Regions from separate parts of the Homo sapiens genome. Here regions 1, 2, 3, 4 and 5 are each linked to region 6. The links are contacts of gene promoters, found by promoter capture Hi-C in blood cells and fetal thymus (Javierre and others, 2016). All regions are on one chromosome and are shown on one strand. Each heading gives the region's core, a stretch centred on a gene start or on the middle of the fragment in contact. The rest is flanking DNA. Distances are from core to core; before and after follow the strand shown. Region 1 overlaps CHN2 (chimerin 2). Region 2 has its middle 37 kb from the start of TRIL. Region 3 overlaps CHN2 (chimerin 2). Region 4 overlaps CHN2 (chimerin 2). Region 5 overlaps CHN2 (chimerin 2). Region 6 holds the start of CPVL (carboxypeptidase vitellogenic like).

What was found. The method cuts DNA at HindIII sites, captures the fragments that hold promoters and counts their contacts. A CHiCAGO score of 5 or more calls a contact.
Region 1: a fragment that was not itself captured here is called in contact with the fragment with the promoter of CPVL in region 6 in 3 of 17 cell types (endothelial precursors, naive CD8 T cells and activated CD4 T cells); the score reaches 6.0 in endothelial precursors.
Region 2: a fragment that was not itself captured here is called in contact with the fragment with the promoter of CPVL in region 6 in 7 of 17 cell types (M2 macrophages, total CD8 T cells, M1 macrophages and 4 more); the score reaches 8.8 in M2 macrophages.
Region 3: a contact is called between a fragment that was not itself captured here and the fragment with the promoter of CPVL in region 6, in 1 of 17 cell types (M1 macrophages). The highest score is 5.5, in M1 macrophages.
Region 4: a fragment that was not itself captured here is called in contact with the fragment with the promoter of CPVL in region 6 in 1 of 17 cell types (endothelial precursors); the score reaches 5.2 in endothelial precursors.
Region 5: a fragment that was not itself captured here is called in contact with the fragment with the promoter of CPVL in region 6 in 5 of 17 cell types (megakaryocytes, total CD8 T cells, M1 macrophages and 2 more); the score reaches 6.7 in megakaryocytes.

What each region holds. Positions count from the first base shown.
Region 1 is chr7:29,379,159-29,382,739 of GRCh38, reverse strand. All of the region lies in intron 3 of CHN2 (chimerin 2), which reads right to left. Among named protein-coding and RNA genes, the nearest start is that of CHN2-AS1, 170 kb to the right of the region's middle. The HindIII fragment of the contact is 946 bases long and covers 1,139-2,084 here.
Region 2 is chr7:28,920,140-28,923,458 of GRCh38, reverse strand. No RefSeq gene overlaps it. Among named protein-coding and RNA genes, the nearest start is that of TRIL, 37 kb to the left of the region's middle. The HindIII fragment of the contact is 1,025 bases long and covers 872-1,896 here.
Region 3 is chr7:29,335,948-29,339,619 of GRCh38, reverse strand. The region is part of intron 1 of CHN2 (chimerin 2); the gene reads right to left. Among named protein-coding and RNA genes, the nearest start is that of CHN2-AS1, 130 kb to the right of the region's middle. The HindIII fragment of the contact is 844 bases long and covers 1,988-2,831 here.
Region 4 is chr7:29,359,245-29,362,686 of GRCh38, reverse strand. The region is part of intron 2 of CHN2 (chimerin 2); the gene reads right to left. Among named protein-coding and RNA genes, the nearest start is that of CHN2-AS1, 150 kb to the right of the region's middle. The HindIII fragment of the contact is 2,659 bases long and covers 336-2,994 here.
Region 5 is chr7:29,395,719-29,398,979 of GRCh38, reverse strand. It overlaps CHN2 (chimerin 2), which reads right to left. Exons shown (of 13, transcript NM_004067.4): 5 at 494-607. Among named protein-coding and RNA genes, the nearest start is that of PRR15-DT, 170 kb to the left of the region's middle. The HindIII fragment of the contact is 288 bases long and covers 1,496-1,783 here.
Region 6 is chr7:29,144,222-29,147,786 of GRCh38, reverse strand. CPVL (carboxypeptidase vitellogenic like) reads left to right here and starts at 1,250. Exons shown (of 13, transcript NM_031311.5): 1 at 1,250-1,358. It also overlaps a transcript of CHN2 not described here. The HindIII fragment of the contact is 3,879 bases long and covers 1-3,565 here.

The sequences.
Region 1 (3,581 bases), core at 362-2,861, 230 kb before region 6:
AAGTCTCCTGCCTCTGAACTTTATAAAAGGCCTGAGTTAGGGCCGTGGCGATCTTACTGGGATTGGGATTGTTGGCTTTTATGAGCTCTCAATGTGAGCTCCTTGAGGGAAGGGCTCCTGTTTCTTCACCTCTGCTGTCCCAGCATATTGCTCACGGTGTTCACAGAGCTCAGCCTCATGGCATAACACAATAAGTGAAAGGCAGGTTTGCTTATGCTCCCAGATCCCTTTCTGGGGCTCACTGAAATTTCAAAAGGGGTATCCATGGAAAGACTGGCATTGGTGGTAGCTCACACCTTGATGCTTTATGCTTCCAAGCTACGGGACAAAACTTGTTCCCCTGTCTGCTTTCTGAATCTCCAGAGTGAAGACTGAAGACCACAGGCAACAACTGTGACTTCGAGCCAGTGATTCTGCTAATCGAAGTCCCTCACATTCTTTAGAGGGTGAACATGTGAACCAACATAAGCCACCCAGATGCTCTGCCCCTGGAATTTGAGACTTGAGTAGAAACCATTAAATGAAACTGTTAAGAGTTGATTCACATGCATGGCAGAGCCTAATAACAACAATAATCATTAATAGTTATTGAGAACTTATGTACCAGGCATTGTTCTAAGCACTTTCTTTACATATATCAACCCTGTCGATCCTCATGATTACCCAAGAGGTAAGATCAGTTATATCCATTTCCAGAGGACTAACTGAGGCACAGAGAAGCAAGGTGCAAAGGGCAGGTTGGACTACCCTGGAACTCTGACGCTAACCATCACCTCTTATTGCCCAAGGTCTGTCAGTCTTGCTTCAAATCCTTTCTCAAGCCCTCTGACCAGCTTTTCTTTCCATCCAGGGAATTTCCTCATATCCTTCTAACCACAATTGGTCCGCCCTCCTAGGCCCTGCTTTTTTTTTTTTTTTTTTTTTTTTTTTGCTTAGTTTAGTGAGAATAGACTTTTATTGCTTACAATAGAATTCTAAGTGATATTTCCATTAAATCAAAATCTCCAGGGCTGGAGCCAGGGTGTCTGTAAGGTTTGCCAGGCTCCACAGGTGATTCTGACTCACACCCAGGACTGAGAACTATGACTTTGGGCAGCAGTTCCAAAACCCTGAGAGAATAAATATTATCCTAGAAGCTTAGGACACCTTGGCAGCACCTTCCCATTGATTTTGATCCATTCTCACAGTGGGCTTCCAGGAACACCCAAAAGCCCAGCCATGAGTGGCACTCCTCTATCCAGCCCTTCTTCCCAGCAGCTCACTTTCACCCACTCTTCTTTGCTACATCTTCTTTGGCACCGTGATTCCTTGGCTCCATATGTTGGCTCTCAAAATCTGCCTTAGGCCCTCCTTGTTTGGACAACCCAATTAGGCATACTTTTCTGGCACGAGCCTGGCACTCTGTTGGCTAGAGTTTTTTGTACTCATCTTTGGCATCCTGGAGCCACAGGTCCAGGTGAAATGAATGTTTTCTCCCATCAAGCCAGATCCCCAGGAGGCCATGTTGGCTGGGCTGGCTGGCTGACCTCCCAACCAGGGCCAGAGAATCAAACATGATGGGCTGACTTGTCCACACTTCTGATCGACCAAACAGGGATTTTACTTTAAAATAAGAAATACTGTAAAGGAGACTCAAAATCCAGAATTTAATCATGAAGATAAATGTTATCTTCACATCTAATCTTATGTTCCTCCAGCTTCCAATTATGCATCTTCCTTTCTTTTGGTCTTCAGTGCAAATGAGAATCTGAGAATATTCTCTACAGAATAAGGCTTCCATTATTAAAAGCCATCTCTGTGCCACTAGATCGCCTGTTCTTCCTCAAACTAAATAATCCTTGTGCCTTTGACCTTTTCTAATAGGTCCCAATTTCCAATCCTTAATTCATCTTCATTATTCTCCTCCAAACTCTCTTTAAATTCTCCACATACCTTTTAAGCCCAAAGAGCTTGAAGTACCCAACAGAACTGAATCAAATCAAGGGAAAACTCATGCTGCTGTTAAATTTCTAGAGGAAAAAAGATTGGGTGAGTATACTCATTTAATTCCTCACTCTTGTTAGTAAATTCCTTCCATCAAAGCTTAATGGTATTTGGGTTAAGTGGTACTATACGTACTTTGGAAAAGGCAAAGTGTCTATCATTCTTAGTTTTCTCCCAGAAGTTACTTTTTTCTCTCTCTCCTAGAAATGTAAGAGTATTAAGTATTCAAAGTGATGGATAAAATTAATCTACCTAAAGAAAAAGAAAGGAGAACAGAATCTGGGAGATGGTAGAAATTCAAGGCTTGTCTGTTTTTGCATTATAGCTCCCTAAGGAGCCTTTTTAGACAGGTTTTCTCTCAAGCACCTCCCCACAAAGGAATTTTAATATTACATATAGACTGTATATCTGTTTATGTTCTATATAGGTATTTGTGCTTTATACATATAAATAGTAAGGGTTTTTTTTTTGGTAAGAACCAAATTTCTCCACTTTAGGGGTGATATTGCCCCCTTTGAGAACTCATTGTTCACTGATAACGTCATGACCTTCAGAATGCTTTTACATATATTCTCCCACCAGGAGGGTGGAATTGTATCTTTGCCTTCTTCTTATAGACAAGGAAGCTGCAGTTCAGAGTGATTAACTAATTTGCCCACAGTCCTGCCCAGGGATAGCAGCAGATTCAGAGTTAAAACCCAATTCCTGATATCAGGGCCAGCACTCATTGCTCTATATTGTAATGATTACATAAAATCCAGAAGCCTGTTCTCTATTAATTTTTTTTTTACAAATTACCTACTTTAGCATTTCTGAAGCAAGCACTCCTCCCAAAATAATTCCCAACATGGTAATAAATAAAAGAGTAGAAGTGCCTTATTAATGCTTGTCCTTGCTTTCAACTATGCTTTTTCAGAAAAGTTCTCTATTCCACATTAAAAATTCTTGAGCATGGCTTATAGTGTTTTCGACAGCTCTCATGCCAAGTCATCCTCCCACCTGTCAGGGCTGTGCACCCAAGAGAATGTCTTTGTTCCATGGGCCAGAGCACATCCTGCCACTCTTCTCACACAGTCTTCATTTTTTCTTCTTGACGTTTTATAATGAAAATTTTCATACATACAGAAAAGTTGAAAGACTTTTACAGTAAACACCCATATACACATCATCTAGGTTCTACAGCATTTTTACTATTCTTGCTTTACAGCATATATATTTTTTCATTCCTCTATCCATCCATCAATCCAACTTTTAAAAAATAGACTTCAGAGTTAACTGCAGATGTAGCACTCTTTCCTCAAAGGCATTGGCATACAAATTATTAATCAGAATTCAAGAACATATAGGAGGCTAACACCAGCTTTGTTCCTGAAATTTAAGTCAGTTTAGCTTCCATGTTCAGATGTTGCTACCAAATAAACAGATCCCACGCACCCCTTTAACTTCCTGCTGATGGAGTGCTGTGCCACCTTTGCTAACAGGCTTCCATCTCTTGAAGTGGAGAAAGTGACCATCAGAAAGAAGGTCAAAGAACACCTGCGTCTTGTAACTGCTTTGGCCTCTTTCATTAATTTATGCATGTTAAACATGAAGGCCAA
Region 2 (3,319 bases), core at 135-2,634, 220 kb after region 6:
ATCAGCACTTTGGGTGCCAGCCTGCTCTGGTCAATGGGAAAGAATGGAAACCTTAGAATTCAACCATATCTGCCTGGGCCTGGGGTGGGATGAACTAAAAAACCAGAGCCTCAAGGTGGCTTGGGTAAAGTGCCTACTGGAATTTACACTTTCTCACAAGCATCAGAGAGATGTTAGGACACAAAAAACTCTTTTGTGCTGCAGAAGATTTTGCAATCTTTGGGTGCCAGGAAAGGTTTCAGTTTCCTTAGCTGTAAAATAGAGATCAAAGCCCCCTTGCTTGCTTCACTGGATCATGTGGAGAACAAAATATAAGCATGAAAGTGAAAACACCTCGCACATCTAGGGAGAGCTTGCAGTATTGCTATGAAAAGTGGTAGCATAAATTAACAGCATGAAGCATTTATGTATCATTTCTCCAACAACCCACTTTTCAGCAATGATTTCCTCACATTTGCATTTTGGTGCTGTTTTGTTGTTTAGATACGAATTAATGCTAAATGTTAAACTCTACTGGGTTCTCTCATTCAAATTGGAGTAACACAGGGAAGGCAATTCTTGTATTCATGGTCTTCTGTTTTCAGGGGGCCGTGGTCTCCTGCAAAGTGCTAAAGCCTCTCTCAAGTATGATGAAACAGCGCCACCGTGTGGTCTCGAGGCTTACCATCATTCACTCATTTGCCTTTGGATTTTTACGGAGCATTGGTCAATAAACATCAGAATATGTGTAAATGCATATTGAAATAATGGAAATTGAGGTAAATTTGGTGGAATCCTCCCATAGCTGTATTTGTGAGCACTTATTAGAGAAAGTATCCATTCATCATTGGCATGGACATGCTTGAATAAGGTTTGTGAGTGACAACAAGCTTAATATTGTCCAAAAGTCTATCTTGGCGATGGTGGTAACTAAAAAATGCATTTTTCCAGAATATCTCCCTCCATTCTCTGATGAAAGAGTCTATATAATGTGTGTATTTCATGAAATGCATTTTATTGTATGCGGAGGGGGAGAGAGAGGTATATAAGGCAACATATATTTAACAGAAAATAAGAATGAAAAATTGTAAAAGTCTTCTTGGCTAGGGCCACTCATTTATCCTGAAGTTAATCAAGCAACCAAGACCAAAGCACTTTGGGGAGCGGCGTGGTAACTATGCATTGGACTGTTACTAAATAGATGAGCCTTTGCCAGGAAATATTTGTTAGGGATAATAGCACAGCAAGGAATGGTTCTCTTCTTTTTAAAATGGCTTATGAATGACAATAACAATAATAACTTACTGTGTTTATTTAGCCAGGCACTGTCTGAAGCACTTTGCCTGCATTGTTCCGTATATTAATTGGAGAGGAGTTCAGTAATGGCCATTTTAAAAATATAATCTAATTTTAAAAAATGCTAGCCAATGTAAGCAGACACACATTCGAGATAAGAGCTAAGCCAGTGTCATTGGCGCTAGACTCAATAGCTCTGAATGCGCTGGGTGGTTGATTCCCTCTGGTGGCCATTCTGGGAATTTACAGATGTAATGCAAATGTCACACAGTACTATAATAATCACAAGCACTGGGATACATATTGGTGAATGCAGTCCTGTCCAGGGAACATGAAGCCACTGGGATGTGACTGTTAGAGTATGACCATCTTTGTTCTTATTACGTTCCTGCTGTAGATGAAAGAGAGAGTAAGTGAATGATCCACTGATGTGCTAGGATTCAATATGGAATGTGGACAGGAGCATACAAAATGATGGGCGTTAATAAGGGGCTAACATGCCACTCTCTGTTTTCCCCTTCAGCTCTGAAATCAAATGGGAGAAAACATTGAAAATGTTAAATAACCGAATGGGTAAGTAAATTGTGTTGTATCCACTGGATCCATTTGAAATAGAAAGCTTCTTTTTATAATATACATTACATCAATGCTCAAGCATTTGTATGTATCTATACATAGAAAAGATCTAGAAGGATAGTTACCAAGTTGCTAACAATCGTAACCTCTGGGGATTAAGGTGAGGACAGGGCAAGAGGATGAAGACTTTTGTCTTTTACTTTATCATTCATTTATTAACACAAACTTGTATTTCTTTTATAATGAAACAATCAAAGTAAACAAATTATAAGAACCAAATATATGCCCCTCTGAAATGTAACATGCCCTGAAAATGTGATAAGTGGGTTAGGGAAATGTTGTAATTCATCTTACGTTTTAGAACTTCACAATATATAGCTTTAAATATTAGCAATCATAGAGCCCCTCTAAAACAGAGTACTCTAAAAGTTTTAGTAGAATTTGTATTAATTCCCTGATATTTTTCTTGCTTTTGAACTTATGAAATGGAGGAGCTTACTTGACCACAGATCTAAAATATTTTCGTTACTTGCTGAGGAGTGTGTGAGCCACCAGTTAAGGCAAGAAATTTGGAATTCTGCTTCCAAGTTCCAATTTAGCTATTCCTTTATTTGTTGATCTTATTTAAAAAAATGTCTTTTCCTGCAAAGCCAATCCAAAAAGGCACATAGTGTTTTGTACACCACAATTATTAAAAATCACTCTGATTCCATGTATGTATATTAGAACTTTGAATCAAAACATTTAAGGTGGTTTTGGAAATCTATATCTAATGTTTAAAATAACATGATATAAAATAGACATTGGTTTTGGGGTGCGGGATAAGGAAAAGGGAGGAAAGGAAAGTGTAGGGACATGAAATGGGGCCAGACGTGAGATGAGTCCACAACATACACTAATGAAAATGAAGTTCTGCAAAACTTTTGGTAAGGGTGAATCATAGATTTGGTTTGCAGTTTACTAGCAATTCAAAGAAACAGGGTAAGCTCCAGGAGTCGCAGGCCCACAAGGCATAGATGAGTCGATTGTTAAGGAGGAACAACAGCTACTGGGCTACTAAGACAAGAAAAAATTGTCTCCTGCTTGACTGGGTTCTAGTTAAAAATAAGATGGTGTTCATCAATCGCAGAGGGAGACGCAGGAGAAGGAGATGGGATCCAAATCCTGGCAGGCTCCTTACTCCTGGGTTGGAGGAAAGACAGCTGTCCCCAGTCCCTCAAAAATTTTTATTTTCCATTTTTAGTAGCCTGCCTTTCCCATCTACCCTGACCCCAACCTGAACTTCATCCTTTCCTCAGTGGGCCCTGAAACGTTCCCCAGTTCTTCTTTATCAGACTAAGCTCAATGAAATGGATTTACTAGACTTTTTCATATTTATGTGTGAGTGATTAATAATAGATTCTGCCCCTGCCCCACTTAGGGCATGGGCATTTATTTTTTGTTCTCTTAGCATGGCAGCTGGGCAGGT
Region 3 (3,672 bases), core at 1,160-3,659, 190 kb before region 6:
CAGCCTCCCAAAATGCTGGGATTATAGGCGTGAGCCACCGTGCCCGGCTAGCATTGTTATAATATGGCTAACAAAAAACAATATTGTTATATTGCTTTTTAAAGATATCTTTTAAAATCTGCTGTGGAATACTATGAAGGCACAAAAAGGAATGAGGTGGCTAATATCGAAAGCTCTCCAAGATGTTCAATTTTAAAAATGAGGCATAGCTCGGGGTTTCAGTGCATGAAACAGGTCTGGAAGAGACTGCTAAGGGCTGAGGTTGTGTCTGTCTGCAGAGGAGATCTGGGTGGCCGAGGGTCAGGAGAGGTAGGGAGATTTGGTTTTCACTTATATCCTTTTACATAATTTACATTAAAAAAAAGTATAGCAAACTTTTTAAAAGGTTGTTTACAATTACATTTAGCACTTGTTTAAATATACCTAGGTTAAATTTCTTAGCTTCCTTTTTTAAAAATGATTCCATGAAGTGACCACTACAAAGGTCCAAAACTATCCCTGATTAACATCATTTCAAGTCTACTGTGACTTTTCCAGAATGTAATTGAGGGTTCAAAATAAATTAACTGAGTAATCCAATAGTATGACAGGCTTTGTATAAAATAAAATCTAAGATAACATTCCTTTTGTGAAAGATAATTTTGACAGATATCATGTAGATATCTTAGCCTTTATTAATAGTCTTTCATTACGTTGTTAGATGTTTTGTATGCAGTGTCTTATTTAATACTCATAACCAGGGCTGGGTGCAGTGGCTCATGCCTGTAATCTCAGCACTTTGGGAGGCTGAGAGAGGGAGATCACTGGAGGTCAAAAGTTCAAGACCAGCCTGGCCAACGTGGTGAAACCCTGTCTCTACTAAAAGATACAAAAATTAGCCAGGCATGGTGGCACTAGCCTGCAATCCCAGCTACTCAGGAGGCTGAGGCATGAGAATTGCTTGAACCTGGGAGATGGAGGTTGCAATGAGCTGAGATCGCATCACTGCACTCCAGCCTGGGTAACAGAGCAAGACTCTGTGGCAAAACAAACAAACAAAAAACTCACAACCAGCTTATAAAACAGGTATTATTAGTCCCATTGTACAGGCAAATAAACAGAGGAATAGTGAGGTTGCCCAGAATCACATAAATAATCACATATATTAATCATATAGTGAAGCTGAATATTCAAATCTAGCATTGTCCGGATCTGAAAAGCATACTTTTCTTCATTACAAAATTCTGTCTCTCATACTAGACACTGCAATGTCCTAGGACTGCACATATATTATCACACTTCATTTCCAAACAGCACTATGAGGTGGGTACTCTTATCCCATCTTACAGACTTGGAATCTGAAGCCCACAGAGGATGGTGCCTTGCCCAAAGTTGGCCAACTCATTTGTATCCCATAAGAATAAATTATGGCCAGTAACATGTACACCCAATAGTCATCTTGGGAAGACTGACCTACCATATTTTATCATAGCAATCAAACTCATTTATGTCACAACATTCAAGCTGTTACTTCAGTCTCTCTGTAAGTATATTAAGCCTGCCTTCATCTATTTCCAACCTAAACCTTACCCCTTACTGTAAGACCAGTAAAAATAGATGGGGCCCAGTCAGGCTGTCTAGTTGGCTCTGATTCTTGAAGCCTCCTGAGACTGGGAGCCTCCAGTTTTCCTTTCCTTCTGGGTTTTGGTGTTCTGTGGTTTCTTATCACTTGCTTTAAAAATAACTTCAGGGAAAATATTTCTAAAGATCACACGCACTGCATTAGCAACACTTCAGACACCCCATCAACCACACCACAGAGCAACAAACAGCACAGGAAGCGTGTCTGTGATGTACAGGAAGAAGCAAGAGTAAGGACCCAACAGCCGAAACAATCCCTCACAACCTGCAAGATGCTAACTGAAAGCTCCACATTAAGCTCTGCATTAGCATGCATTTATCACTTCCATGCCAAATGCTTGAACAAATGTATGCAGGAAGGAAAGCTTTCCTGTCACCCCGTGGCAGCCTGGGTGACAGCATCAGTAGGTCTATGATTAAAGGGTTAAGAGTAAGGCAAACAACAAGTGGTCCCAATGATTTCCGCAAGAGAAAGTATTCACATTACATAACAGAGTGAGAAGAATAGACCCCCTCTCCGCACTCTGCTGTTATGAGTGTTGCATGTCTTCATAGAGTTGGGGACAGCTGTACTGCGTGCTGGCAGCAGTCATATCCTCTTGCTGTTTGCACAGTGGGACATTTGTCTTCCTAATCGCAGCATGTGAAAGTTCCTACTTCCACTACCAGAGTCTGAAACTAAAATTAAAACAAACCTTTCCTTAATAGTTAGCTCCTGTCTGAAGCTGTTTGTACTGGTACCCTCTGTTTATCTATTTTCAGCAGCACGGTCATAAGGAGGAATTGTATATTTACACACCTGTGCCTTTATAAAAGATCATTTGTTCATGTTCTCCTCTCTCCATTTAACAAACATTTACCCATCACTCTATTCCTGATCCCAAGTTAGGCACTGGGTACACAAAGATGACAAAGTCCTTTCCCTGAAGCAGCACCCAATCCTAGAGGGGAAGCAAGCAGAGGGGAGTGTATGAAGGAGTGCATGCAAGGGTGGTGGGTGCCGGAAGACAGGAGCCAGGTTCCTGGCAGGGGCGAATGGGAAGCTAACAAGGAAGACCTCACAGAGGAGATGACATTGGAGCTGGGCAGTGACGGATGAGTAGGAGTTTGCCAGGCCCTGTGCCAGGGAGGGAGAGAAAGGTGGAATGCTTGTTGTTTTCACTTCAAGCATTCTGAGAAGCAAGGAGACTTTCTGGTTTGCATGTGAAGCTTTTTTTTTTTTTTTTTTTTTTTTTTTTTTGAGACAGAATCTTGCTCTGTTACTCAGGCTGGAGTACAGTGGCACAATCATGGTTCATTGTAAACTCAGACTCCTGGGCTATAGAGATCCTTCTGCCTCAGACTCTGGAGTAGCAAGGACTACAGGTGTGCAGTACTATGCTTAGCTAATTAAAAATTTTTTTTTGTAGAGACAGGGTCTCACTATGTTGCAGGTTGGACTTGAACTCCTGGTCTCTAACTCCTAGGCTCAAGAAATCCTTCCACCTTGGCTTCCCAAGAAGCTAAGACTACAAATGCATGCTACCACACCCAGCTAATTTTTGAATTTTTTTGTAGAGACAGAGTCTTACTGTGTTGCTCAGGCTGCACTTGAACTCCTGGGCTCAAGTGATCCTCACCCTTGACTCCCGAAGTGCTGGGATTACAGGTGTGGGTCACCATGCCCAGCCTCAACGGCGTGTTTTCTCACACTGGATAGTTAACCATTTTTATTGGGAGTCAGTTCCTCAACAAAAGCCGTCTTTCAGTACCTGTCTTACATAGCCAAATACTGGAGGGTCAGGCAATCTTTCAAAGCTGACAGATTTCAGGCTTGCAATCTGTCAGAGGGCAATGAGAGGGCCACAAGGGAGATTCTCCAGGAGGAATCTGCTGTCCCACCTTCTCTTGTAGGCAAACGGCCCATTAGCTCTTGCTGCTCATGGAAAAACTCCCATCACGACTGTCCCCAGTGAGTATCTTCTGGCTTCTGGTAGAATGAAGAGGTGTGAGTCCCACTGCAAAGCTACCCCACTGGAGCTGTCCGTGTGTCCCCTCGGTTTTCCCTGGCAG
Region 4 (3,442 bases), core at 416-2,915, 210 kb before region 6:
GAGTTACAGATAGAGGAAAGAGGAACTGCAGGGAAAGGAAATGATGAGCTGACTGGTCAGCAAGAGGCCAGTGTGGCTGCTGAGCCAGGGCGTGGGATGTGTGAGAAGGCCATGTGGGGCTGGACCTTGAATGACATGCTGGGGACCGTGACTGTCCTCCTGTCTGTAACAAAGGGACAGTCACATGTTTGAGCAGGAGCCATGATCTACTCTGTTTTAAAATATTGGTAATAGGGATAAGGTTATTCAGAAGAAGAAATGCTGCCCTTTTCTGGGCACAGACCATGTGCCAGGCATATTATATGCATCTTCTCACTTCATCTTCCCAAAAAGCTTCCAAGGTAACTGTTATTCCCCTCACTAATAAGGTAGCGGGGTTGCCTGCCAGCTTTGAAGATGCTCAAGGTCACACAGATCAGAGGATGAAATGAAGATTCATTGCCTTGATTTCCAAAACCCAAAGGCTGTAGTTTTCAGCCTCAGCCAGTGGTTGCCTAACTAGATGGTGGAGAGGTCCCATGAGGAGCTGCTCACATTAGAAACTCCTAGGAGTTATAAAATAATACAGATTCCTAGACTCCATCTCTGGCATTGCTTACTCTCCCAGTCCGGCCAGGGGCCCCCAGATCTGTTCTTTTTAAAGCTCTTCAAGAGACTCATGCATATCCAGGAGTAGGAGCCACTGTCCTTTGCCTTGCTGAAAGAGGGATCAGACATGGGGAACACTGGAGACAAGGAAGCAAGAGAGAACAGTGTTTTACTGGTACACAGATGAGGTTGTGAAAGTGTGAGTTAAGATAACACTGGTGCAAATGCAAATGAGAAGGTGAGTTGATGGCCTCAGAGATTCAAAAGAGAATCAACAAGACTGGTTTACAAAGAGACCCTGAGCGGCTGAGAGATTGAGATGCTACTATACAAATAAAGGATGCAGGTGATGGAACATTTCTGGACAGTTCCTCTCCTATGTCAACAGGCTAAATCCCATAGCTGCATTCTCTAGGAACCCTCTGAGCTTTAGCAAAGAAAAATTTGGTAATTCACCAATCTCACAACCAACAAAGAACAATCCCCAGCCAGGGGCGACTTGGAGGAGGGAAGGGGAAGGCAAACCCCAGAAGCGAGGAACTGCCACCTCTCTCTCCTGGCCCCTCGGCAGTAGACATCATTATTTGATGACTTATTTCTCAATGAGCAGGTCTCAGAATCTGCAAAACCCTGTTCTATGCTGTTCCAAACAACAGAAGTTGGCAAGTAGGCACAGAAGCCTATTTGCCATCTGGGTTACCTGGCTGGCTATAAAGATAATGAGATGACAATCAATTACCACGGCAACCATATAAAAATAAGGCCCAATCTCCTCTCTTAGCTTCAAATGAGAGCCTGCCCATCATTTTCAAGGTTAGCTATAGCATCCATGAAAAAAATCTCTGAGGCAGAGTTGAATATAACAGAAATTTATCGCATAATCTGAAAACGTTGCTTCTTGAATTTTCCTTGTTCAACAAACACATTTCACAAGTCACATGCAATAATGTATGTCAATTCTTGGGTGGTCTGTGAGCTGAGAGGTGACGTGATGGAATTACTTCTGCAGCAATGTCCCAAATATGTGCCAGGAATTCCCAGCCCCGGGCCCTCTGCCGCACACCAGAGAATTCTTAGCACCAGAGTAAGCTGTTTGGCAGGGGTGGCAGCCACTGGGGAACACGGAGGTGGAGCTCCCTAACTCCCCAAGAAACCCAAAGCAGATTAAGAAATTGTGAGCTCACTGACAGACTGTTTTACTTTTTCTTCAGTAAGAAAACTTGACTCACTCTGGGAACAGAATCAGACGGCTAATGGGTGAAAGCCCACAGCCTGGGTGGCCTTGAAGCCCAGGCCAGCCCCATCAGCTCCTAAGAGATCCTGCAGGGATGGCTTCTAACAGTCTACTTCTTTCTAAGGAGGGTATATGGACCCAGGAGCTGAACCCAGGCACTTGGCCATGACGCTGAGCCAGTATGACCCTGCTCACTGCTCATGTCTTCCCGATTTTCATGGGAAAACCTTATAAGCAGGGAATTGTAGGTGCTTTAGGTGTCTTCCTTGGCTCAACCCCACCCTCCACCCTGCCATGGGAAGGCCTTGCCTTCCTAACAGAATGTCAATTTTTTTTGTTTTTTTGAGACGGGGTTTTGCACTTGTTGCCCAGGCTGCAGTGCAATGGCATGATCTCGGCTAACCACAACCTCTGCCTCCTGGCTTCAAGGATTCTCCTGCCTCAGCCTCCCGAGAAGCTGGGATTACAGGCATGCACCACCATGCCTGGCTAATTTTGTATTTTCAGTAGAGATGGGGTTTCTCCATATTGGTCAGGCTGGTCTCGAACTCCCAACCGCAGGTGATCTGCCTGCCTCGGCCTCCCAAAGTGCTGGGATTACAGGCGTGAGCCACTGCACCCGGCCAGAATGTCGAGTCTTAATGGGGATTTAATTATCTTGTCTAATGGCACTGTGAAAAACCTCTAGGAGGAGATGACAGTTGCCCACACACTGAGGGGTTTCAGGCGTAAGTATGTATAAGAGAAACCTGTGGGGTTTGATACATTGCAGATCCCCCCACTTTTCTGATCCAGAGATCTGGGGTAAGGCTGAGGAATAATTATCATAAATATCCTCCCCAAGGGATTCTGATGCAGGGATTCTGCAGATCAGGGTTTTGAGGCTCTAAACTTCAAATCTGTAAAACAGGCACAAGCTATGCCTGAGTGACCTGCTGCCCAGGGGAGCCTCCAGGGAGAGCTGTCAGCCACTGCATCTGCTGCCTAATTGGCACTTGGCCTCTTAAGAAAGAAAATCTTTCAGAGCATAACCATGGTGATTGGCTTTTGAACTTGCCTGCTCGAGGCATAAAGTTCATACAGTTCTGGCTTAAAGTTTAGAATGTAGCTTTATTATTATTTTTAAGTAAACTTGAAAGTAGCTCTTCTTTTAGAGCATTGAAACCAAAGCTTTCTCAGTGACGTCATCAATGTTTCTTGTATTCAGTCTTGAGAGTTAAGAATTAGCTGCAGATGTATGATACTTTGGGACAAGATTATTTTATGGAAACAGCTCAGTAAGCCATGAAGCTTTTTCCTTTTTTTTCCTTTTCTAAGAAAAGGAAAGGAACAGAGAGGGCAGGGACTTAAAGGCCATCCCGTGGCATCACCGTTCCTTGAGTCAACAGCCGACCTTATCCATCTTAGTGGCCCAACTCCAAGCACAGTGCCCGGCTTAAGGCAGAGACTTAATATGCATTTGTTGAATGAAGGAGTGACTAAATTAATGAACACTATAATTTATATAAAATATTGAGAGAGCTGATTTCTTACCCTTCTAAATTTCTTAGCCAGATATTTATGGTTGCCTTCCCAGCATCCATTTTCATCTTCCTCCTTCCAATATTACTCCAAATTTTC
Region 5 (3,261 bases), core at 390-2,889, 250 kb before region 6:
AAATGAATATGGAGATGTTTGTACAACATTAATAATGTACTTAATGCCACTGAATTTTACTTAAAAATTTTAAAAGGAGGCCAGGTGCAGTGGCTCCTGACTGTAATCCCAGAACTTTGGGAGGCTGAGACAGGCGGATGGCTTGAGCCCAGGAGTTCAAGACCAGCCCGGGCAACATGGTGAGACCCCATTCTCTTCAAAAAAAAAAAAAAAAAAAATTAGCCAGTCATGGTGGTGTGTGCCTGTGGTCCCAGCTACTCAGGAGGCTAAGGTGGGAGGCACTTGAGCCTGGGAGGCAGAGGCTGCAGTGAGCCATGATTGTGCCACTGCACTCCAGCCTGGGTGAGAGAGTGGGACCCCCCCCTCATAACATAAACATGGGAAAAATGATGAATTTTGTGTTATGTATACTCTGCTACAATTCTTAAAAATGGGCAAACATCAGTGAAGCCACTTGTACAGCAATGAAAACAAGGAATGAAATGCGCCTCACCTGAGAGCCAGCGTGTAGCATCCTGGTTGCCGCTGGCTTTCTCTAAGGATGTAGGCACCCTCCACGCCTCCAAGAAGCTCATCCGCCTGCTCCCGAGAGATGATCCCATGAAACCTGAAGGTACAAGACCATCAATGCTCTGAACAGACCACATACAGAATAAGGACCACAAAGAACTAGCCTTAAAAGGATGGTGGGGGCACCCAGAATCGACAGCCCCACAACTGAGTGAAGAAGGGGGGTGACTACTGCCCATCTTAAGTGACTTGGAACCACCCCTCACATGCTCCAAACACAAGTATTCAAGCAGGCAAACAAAAGGAAGGATGCCCAGTCCACCTGGCTTTCTGCTATTGTCTTTGCTTTCAAGTTGAAAATGAAAGTTGAAACAAAAAGCCAGGTTACTCAACCACCGCCCCCCCCCCCCCTTTTTTTTAACCATGGGAAATAACAGAAGAGCAATTACCAATTTAGCTCTCAGCTCAGAGAACTATGTGTTATCCTAATTGCAAGTGGACATTTATTGATTAGCAACCTGCTTGCTTCAGGTGCAGGGTGGTGTTAATTTTAGAGGCTCATTTTCTGGAAAGAGGTAGCTATCATCAACATTCTTCCAGTTATTTACACTTGGAGAGCAATAGCTTATGGGTATTTTAGAAAATGTACCTATTTTTCTTTTTTAAAGATAAATTTATCTTCTCTACCATTTTAAAACCCATACACATGCATGTGGAAAATGTGGCATATCCGGGAGGGTTGTGTGCTGGCCCATGATCACTCTGATGTGGAGGCAGTTGTCTGAGGCCCAGAGAGTGGACAGTGACTCCACAGAGGAATAGGGAGAGGTAGGAGTTGGGTCAGGAACCAGCCCACGTTCCCTGTTGCCTTTAAGTAAATACAGCTGCTCCTCCCACAGGACTGGAGATTTGATCAACCAGTATTTCATGGAAAGTGGGGCAAGCTGGGTTGGGGAAATGAGGCAGTCCCAAGGGACTTCAAGCTTCTGGGAAAGGAGTAACACCCCTTTCTAGGATTATCCAACCTTGGAGAACTTTGGATAATAAATCAGAGAATAAATTTTCTGGACAGAGAAAAACACCTTTACTTTCTTGAAGAGGAGGAAAGGGAAGTAAGCTAGACAAATTTTCTTTTGTTTTGTATTTTCCTCAGGAATGCAAAGATTAAGTTAGAGTACAAATGCAGAAGGATAACATTTTTAAAAGTGCCTATCACAATATTTATTTCCTAATTCCCTCTATCCTTAAAAAGTAGACCTTCCAAGCTGAAGCTTCTGTCCAAGGAAAGTGAGGTCAGAAGCAGCCTGTGGCTTTGTGTTTCAAAATCGCTTCTTAAAGGTGTACGGCAGTGATGGCCTGGAAGAAAAAGGCTTTCTGGCTTCCCAAATTTTGATTTTAAATCTCAACAGCTGATGTCTGGAGGTCTTGGAGCAATGCTCTTCTGAGTGAGGATGAATGTTCTGTGAATCCCCGGTTCTGGTGGGAGGGACTGAGGCAGAGCCCAGTCTCAGGGGGTCTAACTGGCCCTGCATAGCAGGTGTGGATTGGAACCGGGAGGCCAGTTTATTGGGGCCTGGAGCAGAGGTGTTGGAGCTTTGATAGTGAGGTCACTGGACCTAGGAACTTTGCGGAGGAGCCTCCTGTGCAGCCTGAGCCAGGTTGGAGAGGATGGGACAGATGGCCTGGGCAAAGAGCCCTGGGGGCAGCCTTGCGGATGGGTTGGCGGGTGGGTTGGCAGTGAGTGTGGGGGTGGGTGTGGGGGGAGGGACATGCAGCAGGAGAGTGGGAGGGGCAGACAGCATTGCCAATATTCCAACACATAAGTAGAAAAGACAAAAGCTGGGATGTCGAAGACACAGCCCGTGGGCCAGAGTAACAATAGCAGGACAGGGCACGCAGAGGGACCTGCCCCAGGTCACTCCAGGAGAAGGGACAGGAAAAGGGGTAGTCTCTAAACAAGGCAGTTAACCCAAAAGCAGCTAGATTTTTTTTTTTTTTTTTTTTTTTTTTGGAGAGAGTCTCACTCTGTAGCCTAAGCTGGAGTGCAATGGCGCGATCTCAGCTCGCTCACTGCAACCTCCGCCTCCCAGGCTCAAGCAATGCTCCTGCCTCAGCCTCTCGAGTAGCTGGGACTACAGGCACACCCCACCATGCCCGGCAAATTTTTTGTATTTCAGTAGAGATGCGGGGAGTGGGGGCGGGTCTCACCATGTTGCCCGGAGTGGTCTCGAACTCCTGAACTCAGGCGATCAACCCGCCTCGGTCTCCCAAAGTGCTGGGATTACAGGTGTGAGCCACTGTGCCCAGTCAAAAGCAGCTAAGTCTTATGTTTCTTTTTTAATTCTTGATTTTGAGTATGCATACTTTTTCTATTTTTATTTTTAATTGATATATAATTATTGTACATATTTATGGAGAACATGTGATATTTTGATACATAAGTACAATGTATAATGATCAAATCAGGGTAATCAGGATGCCTGTCACCTCAAGCATTTATTGTTTATGTTAGGAACATTCGAAAGCCTCTCTTAGCTATTTTGGAATATATAATAAATTGTTTTAACTATAGTCACCTAGAACTTAAGTTTTAATTCACTTGAATTGGCAAGTTTAAGTGATTGACAGCGTCAAACAGTGTCAATAACTAAATTAAATTCAATCATTCAAAAGAAGAAAATGACAATTTTGTGCACCTGAAGACCAGTCTGTGGCTTGTCATCCCCTTTATGCATCATTTTTAAAAGTCCA
Region 6 (3,565 bases), core at 1-2,500:
GCCTACAGATCTCTGTTTGTACTTTTGCCCTGGGTCCTGCATATATTAAAGGTGGGCTGATTTTGGCCTTAAAAGAATTATTTTCCCACAAACAGATTTTTCTCCTTAAAGAGCTAGGTGGGTAGGAAGTACTTCCATATGGAAGGTATGATAGCAAAGAATGACTGCAGTCACTGAGCACATACTTTGTGCTGGGTGATTTACACATAGTTTTTCAGTGAGTCCTCACAACAACCCAATAAAGTAGGTACTTAGGAGAAAACAGATATTCAGTGACATTAGTTTGTTCCAGCTCGTAAAACTAGTGCTTTAGTTAGCCTTAGTTGCATAACAAACTACGCGAAACTGAAAGTGGCTTAAAACAATTTTTCCCCCTGACTGTCGGGTTGGCTGGGCTGCTCTACTGCGGGTTTCCCTGGGCTCACTCCTGCAGCTAGCTGTGAGGAGATGGAGGTTGGCCCGGGACAGTGCAGAAGATTCCCCGTGGCCTCTCCCACCTGTCTGGCAGTTGACGCTGCTGTTGCTGATAATGATGACCCTCCTTTATTTTGTGTTATCTACTTGCCATTGCAACCTCCTTGCCTTTTTTAGTTCTTGCTCCCGTACTGTCTGGCTCGATGCCCAGCACCTGGTGGTGGCTAATAATATACACTCAGGTCACTTACAAGCAATGTGACCCTGGATGGGTTACTTAACCTCACTTAGTTTGTGTCCCCCAATTGCAAAATGGGTATAATGGTACAGAACACATCAGGTGGCTCTGAGACTCCAGCGCAGTGATTCAGGAGAGTGCTTGGCAGGACAGTGGCACTTGGTGCGAGCTTACTGCTAGTGCAGCTGGAATGTAGACCATCAGCGAACGTGTGTTGCCTTTTTAAACAGTGGGAATCAAACACCACTCGCTTTCCAAATGTAAATCCTGGGCTTGCAAGTAAGTCCTAGAGTGCAGAAATAATTTCAAAATACAGGGTTGAAATTTTAAGATAGCAGCTTTTAAAAACTGGGAGACAAAATCAAAATAAAACAAAGGGACAAACCAACCTGAATGGCACCCCGCCGATGCTCTTCATTAATTTTTAAGATTCCACCCTGGGGCTGCTTGCTTCTTCCAGCATGGGAAGCGCTGACTTGATGCGGCCAGGTTTCTGGGACCAGGAGGTTGGGACACGACGACGCACTTTTTGCCCTGTGGGTCTGGGTCATGTGAGCCTAGAGGAGCGCTTAAAGGCTCGAGTTCTGCAGGGTCCTCGTGACTGGGTGGGGCTGCCTCACTTCTGCCTGATTTGGGAAGCGCTGCAAGGACAACCGGCTGGGGTCCTTGCGCGCCGCGGCTCAGGGAGGAGCACCGACTGCGCCGCGTAAGTGCCGCCTGCCCTGCGTGGGTCGTGCCAGCTCAGCGGGACAGGTCCTCGCCTCGGTCCCTCGGACTTAGGGAGCGCGGGGCAGGTAGTCTCAAAAGCCCTCAGCACCAACAGGGGAGAAAGCACCGTAGAGTGAGACTGGAGTGGGGTGGTCGTGGCCGAGTCAAAGTTCAAATTGGAGCATTGGGGATGTACTGCGTGCGCCCAGCCGAGGGAATACTCTTGAAGTTTCCTGGCACAACTGTCGCACCCGGGGTTCTTCCAGGCTAGAAGCCGTCTCCTACTCCAGGAGCTCCTCCGGGGAAGTACGAAGCTGTGGGGTCCTCTGCCGCTCTTAGCGCGGGAGGGTGGCGGGTGCAGGACACTTTCCCTTACTCCCTCAACGCGTGTTTTGGGGATGTGTTGATTTCGTGGGTGCTCAGAAGCAAGAGAAGCGGAAAATACCTTCTATTTTGAACGTGCCCAAAGCAGGGAAACTTGGCTTCTGCCTAGGAACGCATAGGAAGACTTTTATTCTTGGAATGTAGGATTAGCAGAAACCAAGGGCACAGGAGACAGGTGGAAGCAGCTCCCTGTGAAGTGATACAGAAACAAAAGGACTTTGGAATATTTGTGGATTTAAATCCCAGTTCTGGCCTTGGCTAGTGAGTGACCTCGGGCAAATTATTTAAGCCTACTAAACCTCAGTCTTTCCATCTGAAAGATGGAGATAATAAGTTTTTCTTTTTAAAGAATTGTTTTATTGGAAATAGAAATAACATACAGAAAATGCCTCCCTAGCACGGGACTTGGCTTTTCAGCTAAGTGTAATTTTCCTTATCAGTTATGATTGATGATGAAGTCTATGGTGAAGACAGAACAAAATAATGTTTAAAACTCTGGCCATATAATGACTGTGGCTATGCATGACCCGTGTGCAGTCACCTCTGAGCCCCCCACCTTCACTGCAACCCCAGTGGGTCCCAAGCAAGGTGCTTGGGTTTTGGAGCTGGACAATTCTGTGCAATTCCTGGTTCCGGTATCCACTACTTGGATGACATCAGGGACGTAACTTATCTTCCACAGCCTCAGTTTTGGCATCAGTAAATGAAAAAGGAGCCCCTCAGTACTTGCCTTTCCCTTCCCCGGCTAAATGTACAACTCATTTTTTTTCCATTCTTTGCTTTGGGATGAGTAAGAACAAAGATGTAAGCAGAGTAAAAAGTCCATTGAGAATACATTTTATTAGCTTGGTAAATAACGTTTAAGAAAGTTGTCCAAAAGGAGAATTGGAGCACTTTTGGAAAAGTACACTGCACCGGCTTTGTTGGCATATGAAAGTCTGCATGGTCGTCAAGACCGTTTGGCTAACTGGGCATTCTAGATGTGTACCTCATGCTAGTCTAAGTACAGGGGCAACCCTTTATAATGTAGTGTCAGTGTTCTTAACCAGATGTTGTTTTATTAATCTTTTATAGGAGATGATTGTTTGGGAGGGGCAATTGATCCCCCAATTTATATAAATCCAGTTTATAAATCACTTTATAGTGGGATTCTACTAGCCTGAGAAATAGGTGGGTTTTGACTGACAGTTTGAATGACTTAGAAGAGTGTTAAGAAAGTCCACTGGGTTTACCAGTTCACTCCCCACAAAAAATAAAAACAAGAAGCAAATAATATAACAGAATTCTAAAAATGAGTTTGTTTTTGTTTTGGGAAGCATCTAGTTTGTCAGAGGAAACACTGAGTGTTGAATACTACCCTGGGATGCACAGAACTAAGGCAATGAGAGGGGAGGAACTCAGTTCTTGCCCCAGGTATCATCAGATATCTGTTTATTAGCACCCAAATACTCAAGGTAAATAGTAATGACCCATTCTTTCTTTTTTTGAGACAAGAGTCTCACTTTGTCACCCAAGCTGGAGTGGCACCATCTCTGCTCACTGCAACCTCCATCTCCCGGGTTCAAGGGATTCTTGTGCCTCAGCCTCCTGAGTAGCTGGAATTACAGGTGTACACCACCATGCCCGGCTAATTTTTGTATCTTTGGTAGAGATGGGGTTTTGCCATGTTGCCCAGGCTGGTCTCGAACTCCTGACCTCAAGTGATCCTCCCACCTCGGCCTTCCAAAGTGCTGGGATTACAGGCATGAGCCACTGTGCCTGGCCAGTGACCCCTTCTTAATAGGAAGTATGGTTCACTAAAGAGCAAACATGATTGTTTTA